Regions from separate parts of the Homo sapiens genome. Here all the other regions are linked to region 5. Evidence: promoter capture Hi-C in 16 types of primary human blood cells and fetal thymus (Javierre and others, 2016). All regions are on one chromosome and are shown on one strand. Each heading gives the region's core, a stretch centred on a gene start or on the middle of the fragment in contact. The rest is flanking DNA. Distances are from core to core; before and after follow the strand shown.

What was found. Contacts are between HindIII fragments. The CHiCAGO score rates a contact against its expected background, and 5 or more counts as called.
Region 1: a fragment that was not itself captured here is called in contact with the fragment with the promoter of JMJD1C-AS1 in region 5 in 1 of 17 cell types (endothelial precursors); the score reaches 5.1 in endothelial precursors.
Region 2: a fragment that was not itself captured here is called in contact with the fragment with the promoter of JMJD1C-AS1 in region 5 in 5 of 17 cell types (endothelial precursors, monocytes, M1 macrophages and 2 more); the score reaches 10.8 in endothelial precursors.
Region 3: a contact is called between a fragment that was not itself captured here and the fragment with the promoter of JMJD1C-AS1 in region 5, in 1 of 17 cell types (neutrophils). The highest score is 7.0, in neutrophils.
Region 4: a contact is called between a fragment that was not itself captured here and the fragment with the promoter of JMJD1C-AS1 in region 5, in 17 of 17 cell types (endothelial precursors, activated CD4 T cells, erythroblasts and 14 more). The highest score is 20.9, in endothelial precursors.
Region 6: a contact is called between a fragment that was not itself captured here and the fragment with the promoter of JMJD1C-AS1 in region 5, in 1 of 17 cell types (endothelial precursors). The highest score is 6.1, in endothelial precursors.
Region 7: a fragment that was not itself captured here is called in contact with the fragment with the promoter of JMJD1C-AS1 in region 5 in 10 of 17 cell types (M2 macrophages, endothelial precursors, M0 macrophages and 7 more); the score reaches 8.6 in M2 macrophages.

What each region holds. Positions count from the first base shown.
Region 1 is chr10:63,749,713-63,752,412 of GRCh38, forward strand. No RefSeq gene overlaps it. Among named protein-coding and RNA genes, the nearest start is that of REEP3, 230 kb to the left of the region's middle. The HindIII fragment of the contact is 2,591 bases long and covers 14-2,604 here.
Region 2 is chr10:63,721,046-63,724,048 of GRCh38, forward strand. No RefSeq gene overlaps it. Among named protein-coding and RNA genes, the nearest start is that of REEP3, 200 kb to the left of the region's middle. The HindIII fragment of the contact is 324 bases long and covers 1,469-1,792 here.
Region 3 is chr10:63,150,824-63,153,891 of GRCh38, forward strand. It overlaps NRBF2 (nuclear receptor binding factor 2), which reads left to right. Exons shown (of 4, transcript NM_030759.5): 3 at 1,327-1,367; 4 at 2,688-3,068. Among named protein-coding and RNA genes, the nearest start is that of NRBF2, 19 kb to the left of the region's middle. The HindIII fragment of the contact is 5,670 bases long and covers 1-3,068 here.
Region 4 is chr10:63,204,743-63,207,442 of GRCh38, forward strand. JMJD1C (jumonji domain containing 1C) reads right to left here. Exons shown (of 26, transcript NM_032776.3): 10 at 1,853-2,700. Among named protein-coding and RNA genes, the nearest start is that of NRBF2, 73 kb to the left of the region's middle. RefSeq lists a silencer at 1,633-1,833. The HindIII fragment of the contact is 1,756 bases long and covers 557-2,312 here.
Region 5 is chr10:63,463,480-63,466,552 of GRCh38, forward strand. JMJD1C-AS1 (JMJD1C antisense RNA 1) reads left to right here and starts at 1,750. Exons shown (of 1, transcript NR_027182.1): 1 at 1,750-3,073. JMJD1C (jumonji domain containing 1C) reads right to left here and starts at 2,498. Exons shown (of 26, transcript NM_032776.3): 1 at 2,016-2,498. The coding sequence starts at 2,183. RefSeq lists silencers at 1,611-1,950, 2,491-2,640 and enhancers at 1,730-2,519, 2,141-2,210, 2,291-2,460, 2,911-2,960. The HindIII fragment of the contact is 1,793 bases long and covers 941-2,733 here.
Region 6 is chr10:63,770,209-63,773,049 of GRCh38, forward strand. No RefSeq gene overlaps it. Among named protein-coding and RNA genes, the nearest start is that of REEP3, 250 kb to the left of the region's middle. The HindIII fragment of the contact is 3,195 bases long and covers 1-2,841 here.
Region 7 is chr10:63,185,539-63,188,673 of GRCh38, forward strand. It overlaps JMJD1C (jumonji domain containing 1C), which reads right to left. Exons shown (of 26, transcript NM_032776.3): 19 at 677-845; 20 at 25-115. Among named protein-coding and RNA genes, the nearest start is that of NRBF2, 54 kb to the left of the region's middle. The HindIII fragment of the contact is 1,776 bases long and covers 432-2,207 here.

The DNA.
Region 1 (2,700 bases), core at 59-2,558, 290 kb after region 5:
CTTGTTCATTTAAAGCTTCCTCTGATATTTTTCTTATGTTCTCACAACACCAATAGCCTAGGGCTCTACTTAAAGCAGGTGCTACAAATATTGACATCAAAAATTAGTTAAATTTAAGAAAATCAGCCTGGATGTGGTAGCTGATGCCTGTAATCCCAGAACTTTGGGAGGCCAAGGAGGGAGGATTGCCTGATCCCAGGAGTTCAGGACCAGCCTGGGCAATATCTCAAAAAAAGAAAGAAAAATTAAAAATTTCCACAAGCAGTTATATGGGAGGCAGGAACTGTAGCAGCCGCCAGGTTGTACCAAGTGCTGAAACTGATAGGGCAGAGTTGTAAGGCAGTTTCAAGCTCTCAATTTAGTGCTTCTTCACAGCCCTATTCTTTTAAGTATTTGTCCAAGATCTCTTCAGTAGGGGAAAGATTAAACACTCTTTGTGGGAGAGGCAGAGCCACCCACTCAGACTCTTGTCTGTTATCAAGAGTACTTCCACTCTGGCCTCAAACTTGTTCAACTTTCCCAACAAATCAAATTTAGACGTGAACTAGACTTGCTCTGCTTAACAGGCAGTTTAGTGACCACTTGCTTCTACCTTTACACACTCACATGGAATCTTACTAGTCCATTTTCACACTGCTATAAAGATATACCCAAGACTAGGTAATTTATAAAGGAAATAGATTTAATTGACTCACAATTCTGTCTAGGTGGGGAGGCCTCAGGAAACTTACAATCATGGCAGAAGGGGAAGTTGGCACATCTTACATGGTGGCAGGTGAGAGAGAGGAGCAAAGGAGGAACTTCCAAATGCTTATAAAACCATCAGATCTTGTGAGAACTCACTATCATAAGAACAGCATGGGGGAAACTGCCCCCATGATCCAATTACCTGCCTCCCTTGACATGTGGGGATTATAATTCGAGATGAGATTTGGGTGGGGACACACAGCCAAACCATATCAATCTCCAAGTGACTTACTAATGTATTCCTTCCCACCACAAGACATGCTCTTCATGCAAGGAATTTCAGTAAACACAGCCCTATTCTCTTATCTGGTTACATTTCTTGTGATATCTTAGTGCTCACCTCCCTCCTAACCCCACTCAGTTTGTAGAAATCAGGTTGCTAGTAGGTTTTGACAAAAGGAGAATAAAAGTCTTATCCCCTTGGGGAGGGCAATGCAGAGAGTCTGTCTCAGATTTGGTCCCCTGGTCTGGCCTATGGAGAGAGGGATGGCAAGCAGAGATGAAGGTGTTTCAGAAGGCGCTCTGTGAGATATGTGATAAACTGCCATTTGGATGTTAATGAGGGACACTGGGTGGAGTGAGAGAGGCCTTTCCCCATCTGTGTCATTCTCTCTGTGGCTTCAGTGTTTGACAACTTGGAGGGTGGGCAACAAATGTGCCACTTTCAGGGGAAAGGACTGACAGTGGGCTTCAGAGGTGTGGCAAGGTGTCTTTGTGCAATTTTGCAGGTGAAGAAGACTCGGCCAATAAGCCTTACCCAGGAGTTTGTCCAGTGGCAATGCAACAAGGTAGCACGGCCTAGAAACTATTGGGGTGGAGGGTGTGTGGATATTAGGAACACGGGGCTTTGGTGTCAGGTGCTCTACCGCTTACTAAAACCCTTGGACTATTTCTTCATCTAGAAAACAGAGATAATGGGCCGGGCACGGTGGCTCACACCTGTAATCCCAGCACTTTGGGAGGCCGAGGCCGGTGGATCACTTGAGGTCAGGAGTTCGAGACCAGCCTGGCCAACATGGTGAAACTCCGTCTCTACTAAAAACACAAAAAATTACCTGGGCGTGGTGGCAGGCACCTGTAATCCCAGCTACTCCGGAGGCCAAGGCAGGAGAGTTGCTTGAACCTGGGAGGCAGAGGTTGCAGTGAGCTGAGATGGTGCCATTGCACTCCAGCCTGGGCAACAACAAGAGTGAAACTCCAACTCAAAAAAAAAAAAAAAAAAGAAAGAAAATAGATATAATGATAATACCTATGTAGGACAGTTGAAAAGATTAAGTAAGATAATACATGTAAAGCATGTGGCAAGTGATATTAAAATATCAGAAAGCAACATGGGTCAGTAACATATGACATATTCCTGGCAATGTGACCCCACTGGAATCTATAAAGAGTGGCCTGGCATTTAGACACATGAGTCACATATGTTTCCATGTGCCTTGAGTTGCCATGAAATTAAGTGATTTTTTTTTTTGTCCCTTAAAAACCACATCCTTTTAATAGAAAACTACAGCAAATACCATGCAATATGTGAAAAGGACCACTTATTTATTATCACTACATGTCAGAAACCATCTGGACCATTTTCTTGCAGCAGATGTTTGCCAAATTAACTTTGGAAACAGAATTCATGTAGGGTATTTCTGTTAGCACAATGAATGTAAGTAGGACAAATGCAGATACATTTTTCAAAACAATATTAAGCCTTATTACAGTCAGGTAAAAAAACCATGGTGACTGCACACATTCTTATAATTTGCTCAGAGAGCTCAGGAAGTGTCAATAAACTATCTCTTAATTTAAAAGAGATTAATTTAGAAATGATATGAAATGCAAAAGATTTAAAACCTTGACCATGAAAGCTTAAAAACATTTAATTCATATTGTTCATGGTAATGAGGCAGGAGAATGGGGAATTAGGGTAGCCAAGGGCTGGGGCATAAGCAAGAGAACAGC
Region 2 (3,003 bases), core at 381-2,880, 260 kb after region 5:
CCTTGGGGCCATCTTGAAGGCTGGTGACTACACCCACCATCAAGCTTTATTAAATAGTAATGTTTTGCCTGATTTGGGTAACTGCTTCATAACATGAGTTTAGCCCAAGGCTAAATTCTGAGAGGTACAAATGGGAAACAACTTTTTCTCCCTTGGTTGCTTTCAACCATACTATGCTAAATCTCCCTTCTGTGCTCTGTAACTTCAATCTCTGGTAGATTTCATAGCTTTTGGCTCACATTCAGCTGTAACAAGAGTCCTTGTTTGTTTGTTTCTTATTTTTAATACATGGTTTCTTATTTTTAATACATGGTTTCACTCTGTTGCCTCACTGCAGCCTTAACCTCCTGGGCTCAAGTGATCCTCAATCTCAGTCTCCGGAGCAACTGGGACTACAGGAATATGCACCATACCTGGCTAATTGTGTGTGTGTGTGTGTGTGTGTGTGTGTGTGTGTGTGTGTGTGTGTGTATTTGGTACACATGAGGTCCCACTATGTTGCCCAGGCTGGTCTTGAATTCCTGGGCTCCTGCCTGGGCCTCCCAAAGTGCTGAGATTGCAGGCATGAGCCACTGTGCCTAGCCCCTGTTTTCAGGTATTAAAAATGTTAGTCTGGGCTGGGCATGGTGGGTCACGCCTGTAACTCCACTACTTTGGGAGGCTGAGTGGGAGGATCACTTGAGGCCAGGAGTTTGAGACCAGCCTGAGCAACCTAGCAAGACCCTGTCTGTATTAAAAAAAAAAATTAGCTGGGTGTGATGGTGCATGCCTATAGTCCCAGCTACTTAGGAGGCTGAGGTGGGAGGATCACTTGAGCTCAGGAGATTGAGGTTACAATGAGCTATGAGTGCACCACTGTCCTCCAGCCTGGGTGACAGAGTGAGACCCTGTATTAAAAAAACAAAACAAAACAACGCCCTCCCCAGCCAAAAAAAAACTTAGTCCAATCTCATATATAGCTTGAATCTTCTCTCCTTAACTCTTCTTACTTCTGACTCTGAGGAAGGAGAGCATGACTGTTCTTTCAGTGTTTTTCTGACTATTTCTCATCTCTTTCCTGCTTTCTAATTCCTCTAGTATAGAATCCAGCATGCAGATCAGAGAAAGAGGAGCAAAGTGTCACTGTACTTAGCTGGTATTGTATGTGATTCTCTCATGGATAATACTGGCTGGGACTCATTCCCTCTGTTAATCTGAGAATTCACATAGAGCTTCTCCAGGGCACCCTGTGGGGATGCAGGGGGTTCCTCCTATTCTGGTCATTCTCCAGTTGCTTCTGAAAATCTTCTCTCAGCTTTTGCCCCACATGTTCTGGGCTTCACTCTACACAGCTTCTTCCTGCTGGGGACCCCTGGCTTCAGGCAGTAGTTCTTTTGGTCAGGGTCTGTTCCAGATGATGCATGTCTTGCTACTCTCTTCAGGTTCCCTTGGTCAATGGGAAAACACTGTCCATCCTTTTCCTCCCTAAAGCTTAACCATCTAATCAGCCCTCTCTCCCACCCTGTAATTGCATGCTGCTCCAGCCAGTCTCTTGCCTTCAGCGTTCTTGAGATGGATGGAAACCAGGCAAAGATGCCAGCAAATGCCTGTGGATGCTCTTTGGCTCTCCTAAGAACACTTGTTGTTCTCTATGGTCTGGAAGCAGCACCAGGGCCTGTGATGTCAGGGCTCTGTAAACATCCAGCCAGGAAGTGAGATACAAATCTTTCTCGTAGGCATTTCTGGTCCCTGTGACTGATTTGCTTGGACTCCTTCACTTGGCTTAGCAGTAGGGAGGGAGGGAAAAAGCCAAAGCTTTTCTAGTTCTAAAAATGCCTTTCAAAGCACCTCATAGGCCGGGCAGAGAGACGCACGCCTGGAATCCCAGCACTTTGGGAGGCCAAGGTGGGTGGATCACCGGAGATCAGGAGTTTGAGACCAGCCTGGCCAACATGGTGAAACCCTGTGTCTACTAAAAATAAAAAATTAGCCAGGTGTGGAGGTAGGCACCTGTAATCCCAGCTACTCGGGAGGCTGAGGCAGGAGAATCACTTGAACCCAGGAGGCGGAGGTTGCAGTGAGCCAAGATCGTGCCACTGCACTCTAGCCTGGGCAACAGAGCGAGACTGTGTCTCAAAAACAACAAAAAACAAAAAACAAAGCACCCCATAATGAATGTATAGCCTTCTCTTAAATTGGCTGAAGGTAATTAATGAAGTTTTATTTATTTATTTTTATTTATTTATTATTGCCTGTCTTTTGGCATTTTCTCCACATCCTCACCAACACTTGTTATTTTCTGTGTTTCGTTTTGAAGTTTGGTATTTTAAGGATGAGCTTGGGCATTTTAAAATAAAATTCTGCAGAAATGTACCTAGTGGGTCTCTTTGGCTTCAGGGTCTTAGCTGAATTTCAAAGATAATAAGAGAAGGCCATTCTCTCTGTTCTTAATCATGTTAGGATACAAGAAGATAGCCGTCTGCAAACCAGGATGCAGGCTGTCATCAGACACCAGATCTGCCAGCACCTTAGTTTTAGACTTCTCAGCCTTCAGAATAACTGTCTATAAGGGAACACTTGAATTCATCGGAGAAGAGATGATAAGTGCCAGAAGTAATTGAGGAGAGGGTTCGAGGCAGCTTGCTCAGCTGAGAGCTGACTGAGAGCTGAGAGGTTTCTGGCCTTGGGGAAACAGTGAGAGAGAAATCCCCAGAGCTCCAAAATGGGTTTTTACGATCTTGGCTATGGGAGGAACCCCTGACCCACTGGGGCCTCATGCCTGACATACGGAGCTGCCTAAAGATTGCACAGGAATCTTGCTCCAGAAAGGGAACCCACACAGAATCCCACGGGCATCTGAGCCTGGAGCAGTCTCAGCTGGGAGCCACTTTGAGAGCCCAGATACCAGGGATCTACAGACACAGCTGCAGCTGCTCCAAGGAGGAAGAGGCAAGACTGGGCGCTCCCATGCACCCTCGGGAAGGTGCTTGCCACTCTGCTATAAGCTGCTGTGGAGACTGAGAC
Region 3 (3,068 bases), core at 540-3,039, 310 kb before region 5:
CATCAGGTATTAGATTATCATAAGGAGAGTGCAACCTAGATCCCTTGCTTGTGCAGTTTGCAGTAGGGTTTGTGCTATGAGAAGCTAATGCCGCTGCTGATCTGATGGGAGGCAGAACTCAGGCGGTAATGCAAGCAATGGGGAGTGGCTGTAAATACAGATGAAACTTCACTGGCTTGCCTGCTGCTCACTTCCTGCTGTCTGTGTGGCCCAGTTCCTAACAAGACATAGACCAGTACCGGCCTGGGGGTTTGGGACCCCTGATATAATTGTATCTTAAAGACTGTGGTAGAACCTAGCAGGCAAGAACTCTTAAGTTATGACATCAAAGCATTAAATTATTTGGATTAAGACTGGACAGAAAGCAATGCCTCGTAGTATCTGCAAAAGGGCAAAAGAGGAACTTAATGTAGGTATGAGAGATGCCAAAAATGTTTATAACAAGCAAGATAAAAATGGAGATTCATTATGGACAATTCATTGATAATAGAGAACTTATTTATACCTAACCTTGTTCCCGAAAGGTTATAAAATGTCTTACAGATGAATGTACAATAAAATATCGAATGTAATTAAAGATACATAGATAAGGACATCCATAGAGAAAATGAGAAAGGACTAGTAGTGTAGTTCACAAAATGTACCATTAGTTCTTGCATATTTTTTTAAGAACTTGACTTAAGTTTTCTAGCAGTCATCCTAAAGAGGAAAGATAATAATTTTTACATTGGCTATTAAAATTCAAACAAATAGTCACCGAGGATCTAAGATCAGAGAGAAGTTTATTGAAGGTCTTCATAAATGACATTATACTGTCCTCAGTAACTTCCTCGCAGTAAATATGTCAACAAGTTCTTAGGGCTTTTAACCATAAGGCTGATGGTTTAACTCAGAGACAATTCATTAAAAGTGATTCTATAGGAGTCCAAAATGATAGATTCCAGGTATTCAGACGGATAAAAAGTCATTGATAATCTCATGATATTTTTGTGAGTATGATGAGTAATAGGGTTTGGATAGGTTCTTGTTTGATTTTTATCTTTCCTAAACCTATTTTTCTGATTAGACCATCTTCAGTTTCTGAATTATAAAATCTGTAGGAGTTTTAAATAACAAAACCTTCAAGATAGGGTAGGGAATATTTTCATTTTATTGCCACTGACATCCTTTTGGGGGAAGTTAAGAATTCTTTTAAAAAATCCCCAATTGTATCAGAGTTATCAGACCAGTTCTCTTTGTCATATGAAGATTATTAAAACTCTTCCTTTTACCTGTTAATTACAAAATGAAGACACATATTAACATGCCTATTTTTTCTCTTAACAGCATATCTTTCTGAAGCCATGAAGCTGACACAGTCAGAGCAGGTGAGACATATTCCCAATATTTGCGACAAGGGTTAGAAAGGTTTTCTTGTGGAGGCTTGAATTGTGTGTAAAGCAAAGCATTGTGTCCCTCTCAAAATGCTATAGTCAAAAATATATAAAATGGGCAAGGGAAGAGCACTTCACAACGGAAATTAAAACTAAATGAACTGCAGTCGATGCCCCAGACATGGAATGCAGAAACTTCTTTTTTTCTAGTGGTTACTCACAGATCTCAGATTGCCAGCCAGATGTACCTTTTAGAGAGCCCTCTTCGGACCATTCCTAATCATTAGCTCTTATTTGATCATTAGCTTACAGTCAGTAAACAGGCCTGGCCAAGAGGAAACTAGTTGGACCACCCTTTGCTTGTCAAAGATAATTTAAATCTGACCAGTCTCCCACTTGTCTTTGCTTGAATTCTTAAGCAGTTCAGGCACTTTTAAATTTGTTTCACCAATTGCTTTAAATTGTCTTCTGTGTTTGGGGAGGCCCTGCCAAGTGTTTCAAGATACATTTATTCATAAGACTGGGCATGGTGGCCCATGCCTGTAATCCCAGCACTTTGGGAGGCCAAGGCAGGGGGATCACTTGAGCCCAGGAGTTCGAGACCAGCCTTGGCAACACAGTGAGACCCCATCTCTACAAAAACTTAAAAAATTAGCTGGGCGTGGTGGCACATGCCTGTAGTTCTAGCTACTTGGGAGGTTGAGGTGAGAGGATCACTGAACACCTGAGTCCAAGGCTGCAGTGAGCTATGACTGCGCCATTGCACTTCAGCCTCAGCAACAGGGACCCTGTCTCTAAAATAAATATATATAAAATATCTTTTTAAAAACTTTTTGTTATAAAAGTATTAGTTAAAGAGATCATTTCTGTGAGGTATATCAGTGGCAGGGAAAGCCACTAGTTTCTCAAACTGAACCAAGGGAACTTTAAAGTTGTGTTCTATCCCTTTCACTGCCTTTGAAAGTATAGAATCTGCTCATGATACAGGCATGCATTGAGTTATCCAAACACGCGGTTGATAGGAAGACTTTCTTTTTAGCTGTTGGTAGAATTAATATGTCTACAGAGGAAAGATTTCTAATTTTGAGTACAAATGACATTACACATGGGGTCAGGCACATTGAGGAAAACATCCAATTTAGTGTATTGATTGGGAATAGGACTTCTGACTTTCTGAATGGTATTTTTGCAAACATAGTAAATTGTAAATTGTAAGTGTTGGGTTATTCACAAAGGATTTTGAATAGTGTATGTTGGACATTACTAAGATACTTAAAATATTCTTCCAATTTTATCTTTCCTTCTATGTAATAGGCTCATCTTTCACTGGAATTGCAAAGGGATAGCCATATGAAACAGCTCCTCCTCATCCAAGAGAGATGGAAAAGGGCCCAGCGTGAAGAAAGATTGAAAGCCCAGCAGAACACAGACAAGGATGCAGCTGCCCATCTTCAGACATCTCACAAACCCTCTGCAGAGGATGCAGAGGGCCAGAGTCCCCTTTCTCAGAAGTACAGCCCTTCCACAGAGAAATGCCTGCCTGAGATTCAGGGGATCTTTGACAGGGATCCAGACACACTACTTTATTTACTTCAGCAAAAGAGTGAGCCAGCAGAGCCATGTATTGGAAGCAAAGCCCCAAAAGATGATAAAACAATTATAGAGGAGCAGGCAACCAAAATTGCAGATTTGAAG
Region 4 (2,700 bases), core at 185-2,684, 260 kb before region 5:
CTGTCAGTCTCTGGCTCTAGTTGAGTTTGTCCTTTGTTCTTTCACTTTCTGACTGTCCTTTTCTATGATTCCATCCTCCTGTTTTCCTCTCCTTCACTTTGCCTCTGGTTTCCACACAGGCATGTGGGAAAACCTCATTCAGTTAAAAGGCACAAATGGGAGCCTTCAAGCATCCAAGTGCTTGTGAAAGTACTTTGAGTGTCCACATTGTCACAGATATTTCATATATTGTATGTGGATGAACACACGGACATAGTGAAACTAAGTGCTTTCTGCATTGTGCAACATACCTAAAAAGAAATAAGCAAACTGAGAAAAACTACTACTAGAGTAAAATGATATAGAAACACTTTATAGTGAATATTACTGTTAAGTATCTCTTATTTTGTCCAGCTGTTGCCACAAAGGATATATAATCAGTTGTGAAGCTATTAATATGGCAATTCTTTAACATCGAAATGAATACACAAAACCACAAGCCTCCCCTTATGTTAATTTTTACCTATTGTTAAGGACTGTTTGAATGAGCAGCATTAAATAGATAGTAATTTCCATAAGCTTCCAATTTTGTCACCAGATGATATAAGAGTGAAATACAGTCCACATTCATATTACTCTGAAGTAAAATTGGCCCTCCATAACCGTGGGTTCCAAACCCATGGGTTCAACCTACCATGGATCAAAAATACTTGGGGGAAAAAATATTCTACAAAGTTCCAAAAAAACAAAACTTTAATTTGCCATGTGCAGAGTACTATGTTCAATCCTGCATAAATGAAGTGATGTGTAAGCGTTGTGTTGGGCATTATAAGGAATCTAGAAATGATTTAAAGTATATGGGAGGATGTGTGTAGGTTACATGCAAATATAGTCATACACTATTAGGCAATTTCCTCACTGTAGGAACTTCATAGCATGTACTTACACAAACCTAGCTTACAAACCCGTACAGTATTTACTGTACTTTATACTGTAGATAATTGTAACACAAAGTATTTACGTATCTGAACAAAGAAAGAGGTATAGTAAAAACACAGTCTTACGATCTTATATGAGACCACTGTCATATATACATTCCATCATTTTTTGTTTATTTTTTGAGACATGGTCTTGCTCTGTTGCCCAGGCTGGAGTGCGGTGGTGCAATCATGGCTCACTGCAGCTTCAACCACGCCAGCTCAAGTGATCCTCCTGCCTCAGCTTCCCAAAGTGCTGGGATTACAGGAGTGAGCCACTGTGCCCAGCTGTGCATTCTGTCACTGACTGAAAAGTTGTTATGCAGCACATGACTGTACTATGCTATTTTATATAAGGGATGTGCACATCTGTGAATTTTGGTATCCGTGGGGGCGTCCTGGAACCAATCCCCCACAGGTATACCCAGGGACAACTGTAACTATCTTCTAGAAATTTGCCTCAAAATATGTGTATGTGAGCAGAATTTCTTTCCTGACTACATCTTGTTAGAGGTAAATATCTTAGCTGATATTACAAATCCACTTTTGGTGTGACAGCCATAACTGCATTTTGACAATTCTTAGAAATGGCCAAAATTACGAGTAACTACTAAATTCCACGTTAAATTACGCAAATTACCTACAATGACTGTCAGGTAAGATATATATTTCTACAAGTCTTTTAAAAATAGAGGAATAAGTGTTCTCTCATTTCCTCTTAAAGGGTACTTACTTGTGAAATGTAGAAATGAGATCAATGAGCATATACATAAAGCTAAGGCACGCAAATGAAGACAAAGGATGCCTTTAAGCTCACTGATCTTTAAAGCAGCACACTAGTATAGCTAAAACATTCAGCCCATTTTACCTGAGATAAAACAAAGTAACTGACTTACTATTACTGTTGCTTTGCAACTTCAGTTTACTTCTTTCTTTGGCACTCCTGCTGAGAACTCCATTGGGTTTCAAATCTTCTTCTATTTCACCTTTTCTCTTTTGCAAATCATTTTGCTTCTTTTTGTAAGTTGGCTTAGGTTGTCTTTTAGTCCTTTGCTCTGACTTGCTTTCACTTTCATCTGAGTCTCCACTTTCAGAGCCAGATTCATAAGTTCTTTTGGCTTTTCTCCTGTTGACTTTATCATCTTTTACATATTTATCAACTATGATCTTACTATCTACACTATTTTGTATATCACTAGATGTAGAGGCTATTAAGTTGACAGAACATGGCTTAATAATTTCTGATACAGAATTCCCTGAATTTTCCATTTTATTAGTATTTTTATCTTCTTCTGAGTGTCTGGTGAGCCAGGCCTTTTTCAGTTTAGTATGGTAGTTTGGTTGACTTGTCTGGGAAGCTTGCCCATTTCCTACAGAGTTTGCTTTGTTAATTGTACTACAGATTACAGTGCTATCCAGAGGAAGGGAGGCTGAAAGTGTCTGATTTTTTATAGCATTAGGTTCAGTCTCACTGGCATTACTACTTTTATACTGAGCTGCAGCCAATGCTGCCTTGTGCTTTTTTAAATGGATAAAATCAGTTGTGCCTGAGAACCCAGAACTGGGTTGAACAACACTTCCTGTCTTACTACTGGCTAATGTAACTGGTGCTGTGGTGCTGACCTTGCATTCTTGTTTTTGAGCCACTGGCTGACTGACACTTTTTGAAGATACACATTCTGATGATGTAGAGGCCAAAATGGTATTTGATAAAGAGGAAATTACTTCTGAACCACCCCAGCTG
Region 5 (3,073 bases), core at 500-2,999:
CTTAAAATCTACTCTGCAGTAATCAAAGTCGAACAGGAATATTACATTATGTTAATGCTAAACTGTTCCAAGTTTCGTTTAAGAAATGTGAATGTAAGAAAATCTGGGAATAAATCTAAAATGGTAGATTCTAGGCTAAAAAAACTAAATTAATATTCAAATTTTCAAATAAAGACAGATTAAAAAAACTCATCAAGGGTTCACATAGGTATGGTTCAACATACATTTTTCTTTTTTTGGTAAAATTTAGATATGGTGAAACGCAAAGATAGTATCAATTCAACGAGTTTTGACAAATATATATATCTGTGTAACCAACAATCAGGATAGGAAACATTTCTATCACCTGAAGAAACTCCTATTCTTTCCAGTCAATCTCTACCATCCATAGATAATTTATTTTTTAATATCCAGCTTAATACCTTACTAACATATGCAAACTTAACTCTTTAATCACTTAAATTCCCAACTAAGAGAGCAATTAAGTTATTTATATATACAAATTTTTTTTTTCCTTTTTTACAGATGAGGGGGTCTCACCTATGTTGCCCAGGCTGGACTCTTAATAAGTCCTGGGCTCTAGCAATCCTCTTACCTCAGCCTTTTACACAAACAAAAATAGTTACTGAATTGAACTGCCATAATTTTTAGAACCACTAACATCACCAATACTTTTTAAGGAAGATTATACATTTCTATACGAAAATAACCAGCCAAAACCTTCAAAACTACCTCTATTTTCTGTTAGAAATACCTATCAGCAAAACACACCTATTTTGCGATATCGAGTCAATATTAATACATGCCGCATTAACCATATCATTGACTACAGTGAGGAAAACCCGAGTTTACAAAAACACACTCAGAAACTATTAAAATAGGTAGGTAAAAAATATTAGGTAGATACCTGTACAAATATTACAATGAATTTGGAATTGTAAGCTTTCATGCACACAAAGGGAAAAAAATTTCCTAAATTTGAAGTTTTCATTGAAAAAGTAAATGGCTCAGGGCATTACAAATAAATTTCACAGATTACGTATTCATAAATCAACCTTTGGAAGTCTAGTCCATGTCTTGTCTCTACTCCGCCCCTTACCTTCAAGCTGTCCCTCAGTGAGAATGTACTTGGAACACAACAGAGCATATTACAGCTCAATATCATGCACATACCTACGCTACTCAAAGAAAGCACTGGCAGCGTCACATGTAAGAAACCAAAAAAAAAAAAAGATAATCAATTCTGCATGGCATTTAACATTTTAATTGACAACATTTTTCGTCTTATTTAAAATCGTATAAAACCCAGAAACAGCTTGACTCCAAAGAACTATACCTTTCTAACAAGAAAAGCACATTGGGGACAGAAAGAGAGATTACCCTCCATACCAAAATTTTTCACTTTTATCCTTTACGGTTAGAAAGCCAAGCATCTATTAAGGAGAGGATGAATCCGGGCACAGCCACCACCACGGCCTCTGCCTCTAAAACACATAGGAATCCCCGGACTGTGTGGGAAGGTCTCTTTTCTTTTCTCCCTCCCCTTCAGCAACCTTACAGGATAAGTTTTAAGTCTCGAGCTACAGCACTATGAAGACTTTTCCAAGAAAAGAGATACCAGGGAAGCTGGCCGCCTGTCGCCATGAGTGGTCCGCCCCCTACCCCCACCTGCCCGCGCGGCGCCGGACTCGCGGCTCCGCCTTTCGGGGAGGTCTCCGTGGCCGCCCAGGCGCCACAGCGGGGAGCCGCGGTCGACCCCTCCGGGATGGGGGCCAGGGCAGCCTCCGCGGCTATCCCGGGAGTCCTGCTCCGACACCACCTCCACAGGGGAAGCCGCTCGGAGAGACGCAGGGACCCAGGCAAGGGATGCGGGCAAACGCGCCAAGGGTTCAGCAGAGGGGCGTGACCGCCAGTTGGCCGGGCTGAGCGAGGCGCCAGAGGGAAGCCTGCAAGGTACGTCTGCGAGAGCCGGGTGCGGGCGCGGCAGGGGAAAAGGGGGGCGCTGACTCTCTTACCGCCAGGTCCGGATTGCGGCTGTCCCTGTGTGACACGGCTCGGATGACCCCCGCTCGCCAGCTTCGCCAGCCGCGTCCGCTCTCCCAGCGCTCCGAACGTGCCTCGTCGCCGACCGCCACACACAGGAACCGCTTACCCACCAGCTCTGCCCGCGTCTCTACCGCCATAGCTGTCGCTGCCGAAGCGGCCGCTGCCTCCTCCAGTGCGAGGGAACCGATGAAACCTCACTCCTACCGGCCGCTCATGCTGAGGAGAGCGGACCGGGACACAGCAGCGGACCCGAAAGAGCGCAGACTCGGGACGAACCGGCCGCTCTGCCCCGGACACAGCGACCTCGGGCCCTCCCCGCAAACACTCCTTTGGACTCCCAGATTCGCAGCCTTGTGCTGCAGCGCCACACAAGAAAACTGAAACAAAACCCAACGCGGCCGTCGAAGACCCCGAGGCAGCCCAGCCGCCGCCACCGCGCCGCGGCCAGTACTGCTCCGTCTCCCTCCCCGGGCAGCGGCGGCGCGCAGCGCGTCTCCTTCCGCCGGCGCGGGCGGGGCAGCAGCCGCGGGAGGGTCGGCGGAACCACCGCAGACGGAAAGTAGTGCCCGGCCCTGCGGAGGCGGCAGCGGCCACTGGGTCCGTCCAGATCCAGAGGCGGCGGCGGCGGCGGCAGCGGGAGACGAAAAAATGAAGAGGGCCGCGGGAAAGTAGGCGACAGCTATTCAAAGCTTTTGGGGGTCTACCTTTGTATTCGTTGCTCCCTCAGAGGTGGAGGTGAGGGGAAAGTGAAGTGTAGTGGTTCCACTCTGATCACAAAATAAACTCCTGGGTTGACGCCTCACCCGCGGTTTGATGTTCAGAGCACACAGCGCCCGCCGCCTGAGTTAGCCTGAATTAGCAGTCCCGCAGTAACAGCAGCAGAGCAGGACAACACTTCTACTGAAAACTAAGCCCCAAAGTCACAGCAGAACCAACCGTTCATGACTTCAAGGGAAAACGAGGGGGAAAATGTGATCCTTTCATTCTTCTCATTTGTGGTGATACTAATTACATGTTTAAGCTATTC
Region 6 (2,841 bases), core at 305-2,804, 310 kb after region 5:
ATAACATCCTTGACTCATGTTCATTTTATATTTGTATGAGAATCATGTTTTTAACTTTTTGAGAATTTTACTTTGACAAGGGTTTCAGATGTTTCTGGTAGACACCCAGGGAGGATGGGATTGAATCAAAGATAGCATAAATGCAGGGATTATGTCCTATGGGGACTGATGTTATCTGCTTTGCTAGACAAGATAGTCATGGATCCATTTGGTGGTTTCAGTTGAACACTGAAGGTTCCCTGGGATATTGGCCCTTACTGTAGGTCTATGATTTTATGGTATTTCGAAGCCTTGCCTTCATTTTCAATGTTAATTCTGCCCAATGTCTGATAGCTTTGGGCCTCCACCTCTGGCTTCTCTGTTCTCTTCCAGCTCTTCAGCGTCTGACGTTCACAACCCAAACGCCCAGCTGGTGAATCTATTCACTCCTGACTTCTTCTAGTCTTCCTTTCTTGTGTGAGACTTCTGTACTTACAGGTTCTACAGGCTGGATTTTTGGCGCCCCCTTCATAACCTGTTGAAACTCCTTCTTCCTGCTGCCTACCTGTGAGGCACACATCTGATCTGCCTGGAGAAGAAACTCTGGGGCAGAATTTTTCGCAAGAGCGACTAGTGGGATCTTGGGTAGACTTGGCTTTAGACTGAATTGACTCTTTCTAGTGTGTTTGAGGGCAAGTGAGCCTGTGTGCTCAATTATATCGTCTTTACTTTAAAATCCACTTCCTGTCATCAGTTCCTCAGGCTGTTTAATCTCCTGGTCACTCATCAGCACTTGAGCTATTCTTCTCTCTATCTTTATCTCTTCCCACAGTTCAAAGCAGAATGTTCTAGGAGGTGGGCTCACTTTGATAATTCTCCTTCTTCTCCTACCCATCAGAGAGCCTTCCTCCTCCAGATGAGCCTTTCCTGTCTTGGGTTGAGGAAAGATTGTTTTAATTTATCGGTCTTCATTCTTGTTTTTCTATTCCCCTCTAGTCTATAATGGCTTCTTCTCTAAGGTATCATTTTTTCCTGGTGTCTGGGATTCCATGGTAGGTGAAGGCTGAACAGCTGAGAGGCTGGCCCCACTTCTAGAGGCCCTGTTCCCTGAGGCAGGCTCAGCTTTCCCCTCTAGCCAGATACCTATGTTGGCATCCCTCTGGGAGGATACCAGTGACCCCTAATATTGTATGTTTTTGGGTCAGAGTTTACATATGTCCTGCTCTGCCCTGACCTTAGTAGGGGCTGAAGGAAGTTAGAACTTACTTCTATTTCTCAGGTTATCAGGTCCTTTTTTAATAGGCTTGTCAGAGGGAATAGAGCACTGTCTTTATGCCTCTCCAGTAGTACCACTTTTCACTCTGCTCTGGGGTGTAATCATTTTTTTTTTTTTTTTTTTGGTTAGATTGGGTCTCTCTCTGTTGCCCCAGCTGGAGTGCAGTGGCGTGATCATGGCTCACTACTCACTGCAGTCTTGAACTCCTGGCCTCAAGCAATCCTCCCATCTCAGCCTTCTGAGTAGCTGGGACTACAGCAGTATGCCACCACACCTGGCTAATTTAAAATTTTTTTAGAGACAGGGTCTTGCCGTGTTGCTCAGGCTGATCTCAAACTCTCGGCCTCAAGTGATCCTTCCACCTCAGCCTCCTAAAACCCTGGGATTATAGGCTCATGCTTGGCCTGGGGTGTGATCATTGTGAGCTTTATAGATCCCCTACAGTGCCTAGAATAGTTGCCAAGAGATGTTGCTTGATATGTGTTTGTTGAATAAATGAATGAATCAAATCAGTGGGATTCATTTTGACCCTTGGGTTCCACTTTGGTTCAGGCCCTGATTGGTCCAAATATTGTTTTTCCAAATATCTAGCTTTGCAGTCTTCATTATTTAAAATGTTATAAGAATATATATTTAAGAAATATCATGTAAAATATTGATGCTGGTATAGTGGAGACCCATTAAAACCTGGGGTCTTTCTATTTTTAAAATTCTGCAAAACATAAGTCTCATCTGTACTGAGAGAATTCCAGCTAAAACATGGCAGGTCTATGAGGCACATGTCAGTCCAGGACTGTGCTAACAATCCAGCCAGGATTTGTGGTTGGTTGTGTCAGTAGAAAGATGTCAACTGTGGAGTTTGATGTTGCTCTACATACTAACAGCAAATTAATGTTATTAAAATGTTTGGTTACTAAATACAAAAAAGACTTCCTTGCATAGACTGACTGTACACTGAGAGCCAGAGCTTTCTTTCTTGACTTAGACCTTAAAAAGATTATTTTAATTTGTAGGACTTCTTTCTTGCCTTAGACCTTAAAAAGATTATTTTAATTTGTAGGACTTCTTTCTTGCCTTTCTACTCCTCTCAATTCTTTTTTCAAGCTGTTGTTGATGCAATCTAGATTTTCCCAAATGGGACAACTTGAAACAGAAGTGAATTCATTCTTAAATGAATGTATGAGGAGAGAGAACAGCTCAGGAATGTATTTTGGTGATTAGCCATCAAGCCAGGAGAAAGGGTGGCAGTTGGCTGGAACTCACCCGTATCCAGTCTGCATTCATTTTGCATCCTTCTTTATACATATGTCACTCTCCTCTTTTAATGGAGAAAAAACCCAAGTAAACATTGTTAAGCACATTTTGGAAAAGGGTTTAGTCTTAAAATAATATTGTGCACAGTATGCATGCAAGAGAATTTGAAATTTTTGGAAGTGAAATTAGACAGGCTCAAATCCTTTGTGGACTGAAGTGATGTGTAGAAATAAGTGTAACAGAGATCAGAGTATCTCTAACTATCCTAGAGTGTGGGACATAAGAGAGAATAACCTTGGAGGGATTGAATGAATGTCATTTATGAGAAGTTT
Region 7 (3,135 bases), core at 70-2,569, 280 kb before region 5:
GAGTCAAAATGAAAAGTTTCAAACCTTGCTGGCATCATAGTCTTGAAGTCTTCTCCTGAAGGCCAGTCTTTCAATTTTAAAACAACTGTTTCTCCACTCTTGTTTTTCTGCCGTTCTATAAGGAATGCAGTTAATTACTAAAAGGGTAATTTCTGCCTTTTTATCTTTATTAACATTTGGAAAGAAACGTAAATGAATGAATGATTTGATTGTTGCACATTACATGCTTAATGATTGCTTGCTTATTGACTTATTACTTATGTACTTATGTAGTATTAAAACCTTTGTTCCTTTTGTACATGAATAGAATTCATTAAATTACCCACTTGTAATATCTCAAAAGTTGTTTTTAAAAATCTTGGTAACATCACAATCTTACATCTACACTTTTAATTTTCAAAGAGTTTTACATAAATAATTCCATTTTCAAAAGCTTATGGAACTGCCAAACATTTCTCCATAAGCAAAACAGTATAAACGGCATCTTTAAGGTCAAAGGAAATTAGTGCTAGAAATAGGGATTAGGACCCAGTATTTTGTTTCCAATTACTTGTTTCTTTTTATTAGACAACATAAAACAGATGTTTCAAAGACTAAAAATCTGTTAAGTTACATTTGGAATTTATCATTTTGAAGGAGTATGATGGAGAAAATAGTAAAATAAAAACCAACATACTTGAAACTTCTTCAAAACCATCCCAGAATTCCTTAACATTGGCATTTGAAATGATGCTATCTTTGCAGTTCAGGAGATCAGCTTGGTGGTCTCCAAAATCAAGACTAATTGATTCCGCCTTCCATAGGCTAATGTTCATTTTCTTATGCACACCAGAAACCACTGCAGGCTTATAAATAGATAAATAAATAACAGTTAAAAGATATATAGACTTTCTTTTTTGTTTGTTTGTTTGTTTGTTTGAGACAGAGTCTTGCTCTCTTACCCAGGCTGGAGAGCAGTGGCCTCATCATACCTGACTGTCACCCTTTGGGCTCAATCAATCCTTCTACCTCAGCCTCTTCAGTAGCTGAAACTATTAAATTTCGAGCCTAATGAGTTATTCTCTGAAAGTGAATGTCTCCTTTGAAATTACATAAATTCAAATTCCCTCACAGCTTTCTTACACTTGGTGGCGGAGGGTAGATGTCCTCTCCACCCAAATTCCCTAATAGCTTTCTAATAACGCAGAAACCAGTAATGGAAGATTTACAGCTTCTAAAACTACAATAAATGATATAAAAACATATCTAAGAACATCTGATGTATTATTCTCAGGTTTTAAACAAATTCCTGTACTCTAATGAAGCAGAATTCTGGAATATAGAGAACACAGTAAGCTATGACTTAAAAGTTTCTGAAAAATGATATTTACTAGGCTGGGTGTAGCAATGCATTCTTGTAGTCCCAGCTCCCAAGGCTGAGCTGGGAGGATTGCTTGAGCCCGAGTTTGTATCTTGCCTAGGAGACACAGCAAAACCCTGTCTCCAGAAACAAACAAACAAAAAATTTAAGTGATTATTAGTATTCTTAAACTTGTAACATAATTAAAATATAGGAACCACAAAAGAATAATCTCTAGCTAGATTTTTTTTTTAATTACAAAAGACATCTTTAAAAAGAAAAAACACCCTAAATTCTGGTTTACTACATGGTTGAATGTTCCATTAAACATTTTTTCAATGAGCCAATAATATATACGACTTTAAAAATAGGTCCAGGTATTAGTTAACTCTTGCTGGCAATTCACAGATTAATTCCTAGTGCCTAGTATCTATCCAATAATATTGCTGCTATTAGGGTAATCAGCAGCTTGTTAAAAGTAAATTTTTTAAAAAAGATAAGGGTTAAGCTAATTAGTGTATCAGAATAATTCAAAGCAGAAATCTTAGGCTATCACCATGATCTTTTTACTTTTTTTGGAGACAGGGTTTCACTTTGTTGCCCAGGCTGAAGTGCAGTGGCATGATCATGGCTCACCACAGCCTGGACTTACTGGGCTAAAGCAATCTTCCTGCCTCAGCCTCCCAAGTAGCTGGGACTACTGGTGTGAACCACCACGTCTGGCTAATTAAAATTTTTTGGTAGAAACAGGGTCTCACTATGTTGCCCAGGCTGGTCTCCAACTCCTGGGCTGAAGCGATCAATCGTCCCACCTTGGCCTCCCAAAATGTTGGGATTATAGGCAAGAGCCACAGCACCAGGCCTGTAAAGCTTTCTGATTAGACTCCTTGCCAATGGTATTATTCTCTTCTAACTCAACTTCTAATCTGCCTTGCTGTCAGTTATTATAAAATGTCAATTTGATTATACAGATTCCACAATTAAAACTATCACCTAGAGTATAATGTTAAAACTCCTTAGCATGATATATAAGGGCATTTCATGATCATTCCTCTAGCCATCTCCTTACACCACTCTCCCCCATGAACCATCATGTATATTGCAGATAATCACACCTACTCAGAGAGTTCCCAAAACACCTAATGTTCTTGTATATGTCCAGCCTCTTGTCCACCTAGCAAAAAACTTCACTTAACCTCTAAGGAATCAATTTAGACTAGCCTTTTTGAACTAGTATCCTAGCTTTGACATTTCCTTTTCTGGGTTCTCATAGCACCTTGAACAAAGTTCTTAAAACACTTCACATAATTATGAAAACAATTATTTGTGTGACGCTTTTCTACCTCAAAAGCTCACACAAATTAAATAAAATTTCAGTCCAGTAATGTCATCAGGGCTTGAAGGAGACCAAGGCAAAAAAGACATGCTAAATCTTGTGTATATGCAATGCACAAGTGTGCATTTCTTTTTTTGGGGTGAAAGATTCAGCTTTCATCAGATTTTGAAAGGGATTAGTAACCTAAAAAGATCAAGCAGCATTGCACTAAAATGGTTCTTACTCATTTTTACATAGCTTACTCATTTTTATATATTCTTACTGCCTATGACAGAGACTGCGTCTCTTATTAGATGCTCAATAACTGTTGAATAAACAAAGTAAACATTTTCCAGAAAACAATAAATTTAACAGAATACTGTCATACAAACACTTAATTTGTTCATAATTTTTGCATTAATGTAGTAAATTGCCATCTGAAATGTATATCAAACATTATCAAAACTTTTGTCCAACAAAA